Regions from separate parts of the Homo sapiens genome. Here region 2 is linked to region 1. The links are contacts of gene promoters, found by promoter capture Hi-C in blood cells and fetal thymus (Javierre and others, 2016). All regions are on one chromosome and are shown on one strand. Each heading gives the region's core, a stretch centred on a gene start or on the middle of the fragment in contact. The rest is flanking DNA. Distances are from core to core; before and after follow the strand shown.

What was found. The method cuts DNA at HindIII sites, captures the fragments that hold promoters and counts their contacts. A CHiCAGO score of 5 or more calls a contact.
Region 2: a fragment that was not itself captured here is called in contact with the fragment with the promoter of XXYLT1-AS1 in region 1 in 1 of 17 cell types (endothelial precursors); the score reaches 6.3 in endothelial precursors.

Annotation. Positions count from the first base shown.
Region 1 is chr3:195,091,373-195,097,176 of GRCh38, forward strand. XXYLT1-AS1 (XXYLT1 antisense RNA 1) reads left to right here and starts at 3,216. Exons shown (of 4, transcript NR_104188.1): 1 at 3,216-3,306; 2 at 3,913-4,005; 3 at 4,227-4,335; 4 at 4,548-4,685. The region is part of intron 3 of XXYLT1 (xyloside xylosyltransferase 1); the gene reads right to left. RefSeq lists enhancers at 2,657-2,726, 2,847-3,016, 3,087-3,136, 3,601-4,800. The HindIII fragment of the contact is 5,440 bases long and covers 1-5,384 here.
Region 2 is chr3:195,025,542-195,031,420 of GRCh38, forward strand. No RefSeq gene overlaps it. Among named protein-coding and RNA genes, the nearest start is that of XXYLT1-AS1, 66 kb to the right of the region's middle. RefSeq lists enhancers at 4,855-5,852, 5,853-5,879. The HindIII fragment of the contact is 2,044 bases long and covers 1,890-3,933 here.

The DNA.
Region 1 (5,804 bases), core at 1,966-4,465:
ATACGCAAATCAATAAATGTAATCCAGCAGGTAAACAGAGCCAAAGACAAAAACCACATGATTATCTCAATAGATGCAGAAAAAGCCTTTGACAAAATTCAACAACCCTTCATGCTAAAAACTCTCAATAAATTAGGTATTGATGGGATGTATTTCAAAATAATAAGAGCTATCTATGACAAACCCACAGCCAATATCATACTGAATGGGCAAAAACTGGAAGCATTCCCTTTGAAAACTGGCACAAGACAGGGATGCCCTCTCTCACCACTCCTATTCAACATAGTGTTGGAAGTTCTGGCCAGGGCAATTAGGCAGGAGAAGGAAATAAAGGGTATTCAATTAGGAAAAGAGGAAGTCAAATTGTCCCTGTTTGCAGACGACATGATTGTATATCTAGAAAACCCCATTGTCTCAGCCCAAAATCTCCTTAAGCTGATAAGCAACTTCAGCAAAGTCTCAGGATACAAAATCAATGTACAAAAATCACAAGCATTCTTATACACCAACAACAGACAAACAGAGAGCCAAATCATGAGTGAACTCCCATTCACAATTGCTTCAAAGAGAATAAAATACCTAGGAATCCAACTTACAAGGGATGTGAAGGACCTCTTCAAGGAGAACTACAAACCTCTGCTCAAGGAAATAAAAGAGGATACAAACAAATGGAAGAACATGCCATGCTCATGGGTAGGAAGAATCAATATCGTGAAAATGGCCATACTGCCCAAGGTAATTTACAGATTCAATGCCATCCCCATCAAGCTACCAATGACTTTCTTCACAGAATTGGAAAAAACTACTTTAAAGTTCATCTGGAACCAAAAAAGAGCCCGCATCGCCAAGTCAATCCTAAGCCAAAAGAACAAAGCTGGAGGCATCACACTACCTGACTTCAAACTATATTACAAGGCTACAGTAACCAAAACAGCATGGTACTGGTACCAAAACAGAGATATAGGCCAACGGAACAGAACAGAGCCCTCAGAAATAACGCCGCATGTCTACAACTATCTGATCTTTGACAAACCTGACAAAAACAAGTAATGGGGAACGGATTCCCTATTTAATAAATGGTGCTGGGAAAACTGGCTAGCCATATGTAGAAAGCTGAAACTGGATCCCTTCCTTACACCTTATACAAAAATCAATTCAAGATGGATTAAAGACTTAAACGTTAGACCTAAAACCATAAAAACCCTAGAAGAAAACCTAGGCATTACCATTCAGGACATAGGCATGGGCAAGGACTTCATGTCTAAAACACCAAAAGCAATGGCAACAAAAGACAAAATTGACAAATGGGATCTAATTAAACTAAAGAGCTTCTGCACAGCAAAAGAAACTACCATCAGAGTGAACAGGCAACCTACAGAATGGGAGAAAATTTTCGCAACCAACTCATCCGACAGAGGGCTAATATCCAGAATCTACAATGAACTCAAACAAATTTACAAGAAAAAAACAAACAACCCCATCAAAAAGTGGGCGAAGGACATGAACAGATACTTCTCAAAAGAAGACATTTATGCAGCCAAAAACCACATGAAAAAATGCTCATCATCACTGGCCATCAGAGAAATGCAAATCAAAACCACAGTGAGATACCATCTCACACCAGTTAGAATGGCAATCATTAAAAAGTCAGGAAACAACAGGTGCTGGAGAGGATGTGGAGAAATAGGAACACTTTTACACTGTTGGTGGGACTGTAAACTAGTTCAACCATTGTGGAAGTCAGTGTGGCGATTCCTCAGGGATCTAGAACTGGAAATACCATTTGACCCAGCCATCCCATTACTGGGTATATACCCAAAGGACTATAAATCATGCTGCTATAAAGACACATGCACACGTATGTTTATTGTGGCATTATTCACAATAGCAAAGACTTGGAACCAACCCAAATGTCCAACAATGATAGACTGGATTAAGAAAATGTGGCACATATACACCATGGAATACTATGCAGCCATAAAAAATGATGAGTTACTGTCCTTTGTAGGGACATGGATGAAATTGGAAATCATCATTCTCAGTAAACTATCGCAAGTACAAAAAACCAAACACCGCATATTCTCACTCATAGGTGGGAATTGAACAGTGAGATCACATGGACACAGGAAGGGGAATATCACACTCTGGGGACTGTTGTGGGGTGGTGGGAGGGGGGAGGGATAGCATTGGGGGATATACCTAATGCTAGATGACGAGTTAGTGGGTGCAGCGCACCAGCATGGCACATGTATACATATGTAACTAACCTGCACAATGTGCACATGTACCCTAGAACTTAAAGTATAATAAAAAAATAAAAATAAATAAATAAATAAATAAATAAAATTAGATGCTACTTCAAGCCATTACCTGGGGAAAGTAATTAGACTCCTCCGAAAATAACAGCAGTTCTGCTGCCACTCCTGGAGCCTTTCTTCTGGAATTATCTGGCCGTCCTCCCGCTGCCCTTCTCCCCACAGCTGTTCAGGGTGCAGAACTGCCCACTGGGGAAAAGGTGCCCTGACTCCAAGCGCATCCAAACTAATTAGGAGCCTATCCTCCCCCAGCCCACGTCCGTGGAGGCGCCATACCCCCAAGGCCTGGTGCAGTCAAGGGGAGAGTGTCAGCTGCTCCCCTCGGGGACAGTGGCAGCTCCTCCTCCTCCTCCTCCTCTTCCTCCTCCCTGTGTGGAATTTCGTGGGCTGGCTTGCTGGGGAGGCCATGAAACATGAAATTCACAGCACTGGCCTCTCCTGTTCCTAGGTCTCAGACTGAGGGAAAAGCATAAAGAAACGCTGGCTGTGGACGCACCTTGGAAGGAGGCAAAGGAGAAAAGAAAGCAAGCACCCGACACAGCCCAGCGAGGCCCCAAGGAGGCCCCACGCCCCACTGCCTGTCTGCACTCTGCTGAAACCCACATCCACGCCCCCAGGCCAGCTGGCATCTTCCACGCTTCCCTGCTCTCTTGGGGCCTCCTCCCTCACGCCCTCAGTGTCACCTCGCCCTTTGCCCAAGACCAACAGACACCTGCCCACACGCATGCAGGCCCAGAGTGGCCCGACCAGGCTTCCTCGCCCCTTGTTCTGTCCAGACACAAAGCTGACATGGGAGTCCGGTCGGCAGACTCATCCCCACACCCTGTACAAAGCTGGACACCCGCGGAGACCTCCGGAAGCCAAGATCTAAGCGCTTCGATCCCACATTCACAAGCCCCCTCAGCGGGGATTCCCAGACGCACGCTTCTCCTGAGAGAGTCCAGCCCCTCCTGGCGGCCGTGGTCCCTGGATGCGGGTGCTCGAGGCCTGTGTGGGTAATCACGCTTCCCGTCTCCACGCCACCCTTCCCCCACAGAGTCGCCTGCCCTTCCACACAGACAAGGGGCCACAAGGCCGCACCTTCCCCTCTCCACACAGCCTGCGAAGGCATCGCAGATGCCATTCTGATTAGCAAATGCTGCCTCTGCTCCACCACGCACCTGTTCTGTGGCTCAGCTCTGCCACTGGCCCTCCAGAAGGTTTTCTCAGCTAACCCCACTGGCCTCCACCTCCCCTCCCAGGGTTCTCTCACATAAGAGTTACTAGATGCAGGGCAGTGCTTCCCAGACCTTACTGTGCGGGGGAAATGTGTGTCCGGGATCTGGTTAAAATGCAGACTGGGATTCCGCATCGCTGACAAGCCCCCAGGTGATACCAACGCTACTGGTCTGCAGGCCACACTTTTGAGTAGTGAGAAGGTGGAGGTAAGAGTGAGGACTCTGAGTCAGGGAAAGTGTGTTCTGGCCCCAGCTCCACCAGAACTAAGCATTACATCTCATGAGACTGCCGTGAGGGCTGCATGAGGTAATGCAGTGTCTGGCTGTCGCGGGAACGCAGCGTGCACTCGCAAATGCAAATTCTCTTCCTCTTGCTCCAGTCTTCTCCCTGTGGCGGTGGTGAGTGTAATGCCTCAGAAGACTCTGCCAGGGCATTAAACAAAGTCATACGCGAACCCCCCGGTGCACGGCAGGTGGGTGATGTGGGTTCTCCTTCCTTGCCTTCCACCATCTGGGACTGGGGCCAGCACAGAACCTGTGCCCCATATGGTCAGGGAAGGCAGGGGGACAGCTCCTAGAGCTGAGCCTTGCAGATGGGCACTCTTACAGCCGGGCCTCCACATCCAGTTTGAGTGCTCATGTGTGGTGTTGGGGAAAGGGGTCGTTCAGGTCACACTGGTGGGCAATTCTTCAGGGGACTTTGTCACCTGTGTGCTTATGCGTGAGCAACAGCGCCTGATGACTCTTGGGAAGAGCCACAACAAAGCGAGGGCCTGCAGGCGGCAGTGGCCAGGGAACCCTAGGTAAGGCCCTAACACGTGCGGTCCCCTGATCTGCGGGTGGGGCAGCCTTCACTGGAGGGGGAGTGAGTCTCAGTGAATCAGAGTGGGTACATGTGGAGCTGCAGGTCAGCAGCTCAACAGGGATGAGTAAGGTGCTTTCAGAGGCCACGTTAACCACATCTGGCTGGGAAGGAACCAGTTAGCAAACCTCTCTTTCCCTGCCCTGTTTCCAGCCCACAGGAACTCAAGCAGCTTCAGAGAAGGTCTTACTTGTTTCCGGGGAGAGGCCAGAGGCTCCGGGAACCCAATTCAATATGTAATATATAGCAGTGTCCACGCTATGGTCTAAGCAAAGGCAAGAGGAGAAATAAGGTTGATGGATGGCTCCATCCTTAGCACGCGTTTATGGACACCCACCCAGCCTTCTCCCAGCCGCCACGGCTCTCCACACACAGACAAAAGCAAAGCCCTTTGACCTTAAGCAGAAAAGTACACTGTCTCAACATACTTTTATAGAGTACCTGCTAAGCCTGGGGCCACCTAGGGGAGATTGGAGGGTCCCTCTAGCATGGCTGCAGCCCATGCACAGCAGGAGGATCTGTGTGGCCAGACGGGGAGGCTGGTGACAGTGGCGCAGACACAGCACTCAGAGGCCTCCAGGTGCGGAGAAACAACATGTGACGCAGACACCATGCTCTGTTCCCAGTGCGTCCCCAACACACACACGTATATATACACGACCATGCCCATGTGCACTTACATAATACACATGCACATACGCACACGTGTACGTAACAGACGCACATGCTGACAAACACACACGATACACACACACACACGCATACATTTCCTCGGCCTTCGGGAAAATGGAGTTCAACCTCCCATCTGAAGTTGAACTCGTTTCTTCAGAAGTGAGTCTGAGTCTTCATTTCTCAGGCACAGATGTGCAAGGAAACCATTCCTTCTCCTCCTCAGGCCTTCTCAGTGCCCTGGTAATATTTACACAGTTATTTAACAAGCAAGGCTGAGCTTTCCTTTCAACTGGCAATTAAAATCAGAACATAGAGACAAGCTTTGTAAAGCTTGGTTTCCATAGAGGATAATTTTCTTCCATGGGTTTAAAAAAATGAGAATCTTGACTGAAACTGTAGGTACTCACGTCAACAGTAATGCCCACTCAGTCTTCCAAATTGAGATAGAATGTGACTACCTTTTGCTGGAGGTTAGAAATAGTTCAAATTTGTATAATTTGTTTCCCAATTTAATAAGAAAAACAACAGGGGTGAAAATGGTCAGGCTGCGCTGAGCGCTGGGCAAAGGCAGGCTGTTCTGATTCCCGCCCAGCAGACCCCTCAGACGGGCTCCCCTGGCGTCCCTCTGCTGGGACTTCCCATGTCCCTGTTGTCTTGAAGAAAGGAACAAGACATATAGGCCGGTTCATTTTTAATCTGCTGCTGGTGTGGCCCAGTCCCCTCAACCAGACTGCTGGC
Region 2 (5,879 bases), core at 1,662-4,161, 66 kb before region 1:
CTGAGGCACTTTCAGACAATACCCATGCCCAAGCCCCCAGACCATTCCGTCAGAATGGAGAGGGGAGCACAGGTGATTCTCCTGCAAAGCCAGAGAACCCCTCTTCTTAGCTCCCCATAAAACTCCTGTTCAAAGCCTTAGGCCAGTATCAGTTATTTCTTTCTCCAAGCGAGATAATGCAGAGGCATTTTACTGTGTATAATTTGTGATGCTATCACTTTTTCCCCAGGCCGTCTTTATGCAGACCAACCCAAGATGAAATGTTCGGGGTTGGGCAGGCAGATCCTTCAGCCCGAGTGGTGTGGCAAGCTGGAGGGAGGGGGAGGCGTGGCACCAACTCTGGGGAAGTTTCATGACAGCGAAGCTCAATCATCACAGCTGAACACCCAGGTCAGGTGAGGGAGGCCCCAGCCATCCCAAGACGGAGCAAAGCCCTCGGCAGTCAAGTTAGTTGGGCTGGACCAGGCCCCGGAGCTCAGAGGTGGAAGTAGTTTCAGACTGATGAGTTCAACAGGATGATTTTGTTCTGTGAAGTGGAAGCAGCTGGCAAATTGGAGGCTCTCACAGAGCCTGTCTCTTATAAGTAATGGGAAATGAGAAATTGTCCTCAGCAAAAACAGAGGGAGCTCCAAGGAGCCACAGTTTAAATGTCCACCCAGGCCAGGAGCGGTGGCTCATGCCTGTAATCCCAGGACACTGGGAGGCCGAGGCGGGCGGATCACTTGAGGCCAGAAGTTTGAGACCAGCCTGGCCAACATGGTGAAACCCCATCTCTACTAAAAATACAAAAATACAAAAATTAGCCAGGCTATGGTGGCGCACACCTGTAACCCCAGCTATTCAGGAGGCTGAGGCGGGAGAATCACTTGAACTCGGGAGGCAGAGATTGCAGTGAGCTGAGATCGTGCCACTGCACTCCAGCCTGGGCGACAGAGAGAGACCCTGTCTCAAAAAAAAAATATATATATATACATATATATATCCACCAGAGACAAGCTCCTCTAACACAGACACCTGCATGTAAACTATAGGCACAAAGGTAAAATAACAGGAAGGGCCCTAGATTTGGGAGTCAATATAACTGGATTCAAAGGCCAGCCCTGCCCTCCCCTTAAATCCCAGCACATCTTTGCCAACATTGGTTTATCAAACTTTTAATGTTTTCCAACAAAGAGGTGATAAATGTTATCCCATTCTTTTAATTTACATTCCAATGACATTTTAATAGAACTATAAAACACCAGAGTTGAAAGAGACCTCAGTGATCAAGTACTCAAATGCCTTCGTTTAAAGAATTTTTAAATTGAGTATAAGTAATACATTGACACATTATCATGGTAAAATTATATATATATTATATATATATATAGAGAGAGAGAGAGAGAGAGAGAGCAATCTATTGAATAGAAAATGAAAATTCCACTTTGCACCTTCCTCTGACTCTCTTACTGAGGGTAAATTGATGTTCATCATTGCTACATGATGGGTAATTTGCTACATATCTACTTGCATATGTAAATGCATAAAAGTATAGTGAGTTGTGGTATTTTACATAAAAGATATATAGCCGTATATCTTTTTTTGTAATTATTATTTTCTAACAACACATTCTAAGGGTGTCTTAACACATATCTCAGAAATCTTTCTGTATCAGTACACATAGACCTGTTCCACTCTTTGCTCCATAATATCCTATAGTATGGGGTGTATTTGTTATCCATTGCTGGATAACAAATTACCCCCCAAATTTAGCAGCTTTAAAACAAAAACAATTTATTATTTCACACAGATTCTGAGATCAGGAGCCCTGAAACAGCCCCTCATGGTGGTTCTGGATCAGGGCCTGTCGTGGGGTTGCAGCTGAGCTGGCAGGGCTGTGGTCATCTGAAAGCTTGATTGGGGTTAAAGGATCCACAGATAAGATGGCTAACGCCCATGGCTGTTGGCTAAAGGACTCAATTCCTTTCCACGTGGGCCTCTCTACAGGGCTGCTCACAACTAGGCAGCTTCCCCAGGGCAAGGGATTCAAGAGCAAGGAGAGAGAAAACCCAAGATGGAAGCGGCTTAGGTTTTACTAAGCCCGGGAGTGCCATGCCATTCCTTCTGTTACAGGTAGTGAGACAGGCATGAGCAGGGCAGGAGAGGGCTCTGGGGGAATGTTGGGTGATGGTTTGGCAATGATCACACTGCCTCTCTAAAAGTGATAAATTGGCAGCCAGTGCCAGGGAGAGGCCATTTCCTCATGGACCACACCTGCTGCACTAAAGTGTTCATTGAATGCAGGTGCCAGGGAGACACAACTTCCCAGGCATGGTGCATTAAGAGACAAAATGGCAGAGTATGACCCTCTGGGAGCACCCCACAAGAAAAGGGAAGAAAGCCTCAGGTGGGTATGTGTACAACTTCCTATACACACTGTGTAAGGGTAAGGAGGGCACTGCACATGCAGGCAGCTCACCCTAAGGTGAGAATCACGAGAAAGGGGCCAGCCCAGAAAGTCCTCGGATCAAGGTTAAACGCTGCACTTGTTCTGACGTCGCCCGCTTGGGGTCTTTTCCCAGTGTACTTTCTTTCCTGGTCTAAAGGCTTTATAAAAACCTTCCACTCCTCCTCTTGCCTTCCTCTCTTTTTCAGCCTTAGGCCCGTCAGTCAAATTCTTTCTTCTGAGGAGGCAAGAATTGAGGTTGCTGCAGACCCACACGGATTCACCGCTGGTAACTCAGATACCTTCCAACCTTCCACTGGTAACAATTCTGCCATATGCTGTTGGTCAAGCAGATCTTCCCTGGTTCAGTGTGGAAGAGGACTACACTGGGGGGATGCCAGGAGGTGGAGATCACAGGGATTGACTTGGAGACCTGCTGCCACATATGGTCACCAGGGTTATTCTCCATTCTCACAGGTGGCCTCCCGTTTCTCATGCTCACAGGCGGCACTGCCATGAGCATCCTTGGGCATGCTTCTGTGAGTTTTTTTGTTTTGTTTTGTTTGTTTGTTTTGTTTTTGAGATGGAGTCTTGCTCTATCACCCAGGCTGGAGTGCAGTGGTGCGATCTCGGCTCACTGCAACCTCCACCTTCCAGGTTCAAGCGATTCTCCTGCCTCAGCCTCCTGAGTAGCTGGGATTACAGGTGCACGCCACCATGCCCAGCTAATTTTTGTATTTTTACTAGAGACGGGGTTTCACCATGATGGCCAGGCTGGTCTCGAACTCCTAACCTCAGGCAATCCACCCACCTCTGTTCCCACTGAGCATGCCTCTTAATGCCCAGGTACGTCTCTTCTAGTCCTAGTGGTAGAATGGCTGCAATTCTTGCATTTTCAAATGGGAAACTGAAACCAGAGGAAGGTGACTTCTCCAAGGTCATACTGTTAATCGCCTACGAGTCCAGGATGACATCAGTCACCTGACTTCCAGCCTACTTTATTTTCAGAGCCACTCTGTAGGCAAAATACACATGGCCTGAGATTTCAGGAAGTATGTTGAGATAAAGCCTGGCTGGGAATTGCCAAGAGTCAGTTTCCAGAACGACAAAACGTGTAATGGCTAATCTTGCTTTGTAGGCACTACATAAACGTCACTACACTCAAAGCCTAGATTAGCCAATGCATGAATGTCTAATCTGCCTTGATTAAAAGGAAGCTGGTGGAAATGAGGAATCTTTTCCATGCTGTCATTAGCAGAAACTTCGGAGTGAGACAGACCCGGGTTTGAGTTCTGGCTCTAGCTCTGTGACTGTAAGCCAGCCACATCATTCCTGTGTCATGGTTTCTCCATCTGTAAAATGGGAATCATCAGAGTACCAACTTCACAGGCTGTTCAGTGGATGATGTGATGGTGTAGATCATGCACTCAGCGAGGGGCTGGCAGGCTTCCCACAGGAGCTGCTGCTATTTGTATTCTCCCTGTCTGGCCTACTTCATTTATCCATCAAGCTTCCTGAATGAATGGATTCCATTTTCTAAAAAATAGATGGTACCTGGAGAGCTCATTTTATTCCATTTTCCCACATCTTGACTCTGCTGTTAATACCATCCATTATTTTGTGGCCTGCTTTTTGTTGCATACTGTCAGATTTGTGATGAATGTAGCACAGCGTGGGCGTGAAGTCAATACAGAGCCTCCTGAGAGCTGCCCCTGTGGCCCAGCACAGACTACTTCTTGCCCCTTGTGTGGCTGGCTGTATGTGCAACTGTCTCTGCGGGCAGGACCTGAATCCTCCTCACCTCTGTGGCTGTAATGTGTCTGGAATGAATGAATGAATGAATGAATGAATGAATGAACAAATGAAAAAAAGGGATCGGCCGGGCGCGGTGGCTCATGCCTGTAATCCCAGCACTTTGGGAGGCCGAGGTGGGCAGATCACAGGAGGTCAGGAGTTCGAGACCAGCCTGACCAACACGGAGAAACCCCGTCTCTACTAAAAATACAAAATTAGCTGGGCGTGGTGGCACGTGCCTGTAATCCCAGCTACTTGGGAAGGTGAGGCAGGAGTATCGCTTCACGCCGGGGGCAGAGGCTGTGGTGAGCTGAGATCGCACCATTGTACTCCAGCCTGGGTAACAAGAGCGAAACTCTGTCTCAAAAAAAAAAAGGATCAATAGAACCAAATCAACTGAAATGAATGGGTCACAAAGGACATCGCTGGAACATTGAATTATTGCCTGGATTTGGATTTAAAATGTTAAGAGTATTGTAGAGATTTAGAATAACTTTGAGTCCTCCAACATCCAGCAGAAGGAAAGATGGGATACTGTGGGTCGAAGGATGGGGTACTCTGGGTTGAAGGATGGGGTACTGTAGGTCGGGAAAAAGGAAGAGGGGCCAAGTATTGCGCCGGTTTTCTGTGCGATGAGTTTAAGGTGTTTTCGGGCCTCCAGAGTAGACCTCATCTGCTGGGTTGGGTTTAAGGGAGAGACCCATGGCTTTTTACCAGCTGTGCAGCAGGTTAGCAAACAGGCTTTTACCCTGAAGCCACTGGATATCCCCGAGCTTCAGGAGAGAACCCTGGAAACCCTACTGCTCTTCAGAATCAACAAGCCCTGGAATGTTTCTGGCCAGAGCCAGGCAAGGACAGAGATTTAAAGGGGATGTGACAAGTGTCCCAGGTAAGTGACACCCAGGCCCAAACTGGAAGGGTACCAGCATTCTCCCTGTTTGAGGATCCTTGTCAGGGACCTCAGCCATAGGGAACATCTGAGCTTGGCCTCTGAGCCCTTCCGTCCACTCCTAGCACTGCCTCCACAGCCCCAAAGAAGACCCCACTTCTCCTCGAGGGTGGCTGGCCTGCTGGCAAAGACCATTTCCTCCTCCTCCACTTGGGAAGCCAGGGGAGCCTGGCCCGGCCCATCAGCTGGGCCAGAGGGCGGTACTGCCCTGGGGTGCCCTGAGGGAGAAGGGCAGGGCTCCGGGTGCCTGTGCAGTGCTGGGCCTCAGCAGGGGCCTGGCCCAGTGTGACCGCAGCGCCACAATAGCCAGGCTCCCCCCGAGGGCATCTTGTACGCAGGCTGATACTTTGAGCTTACTCATTCCAAACCCCTTTGCTGTCCTTCCTCAGGAAGCTTCCTATTGAAAGATAAATGCTCTGTCTGTGATCAAACAGATTTACATTTATTTACTTTCCTTTCCTCCCAGGACTGCGCCAGCCCAGACAAGTCCAAGAGGAGGATTCCAGGCAGTTAAGATGGTTTCCGGAGAAGCCTGGAATTTCCCCGTAAGCACAAGCTCGGCAGAAAAAGGCAGGGTCCCTCGGCAGCCAGGGCAGGGGCTGAGTCAGTCCCAAGTCTCCCTGGCAAATGGATCACCCCTTAGGGTGGGAAGAGCCCCCCAGCTGTGTGGGGAACCTGGCTAGAGGTTGCTGAACCTCTGCTTTCAAGGAG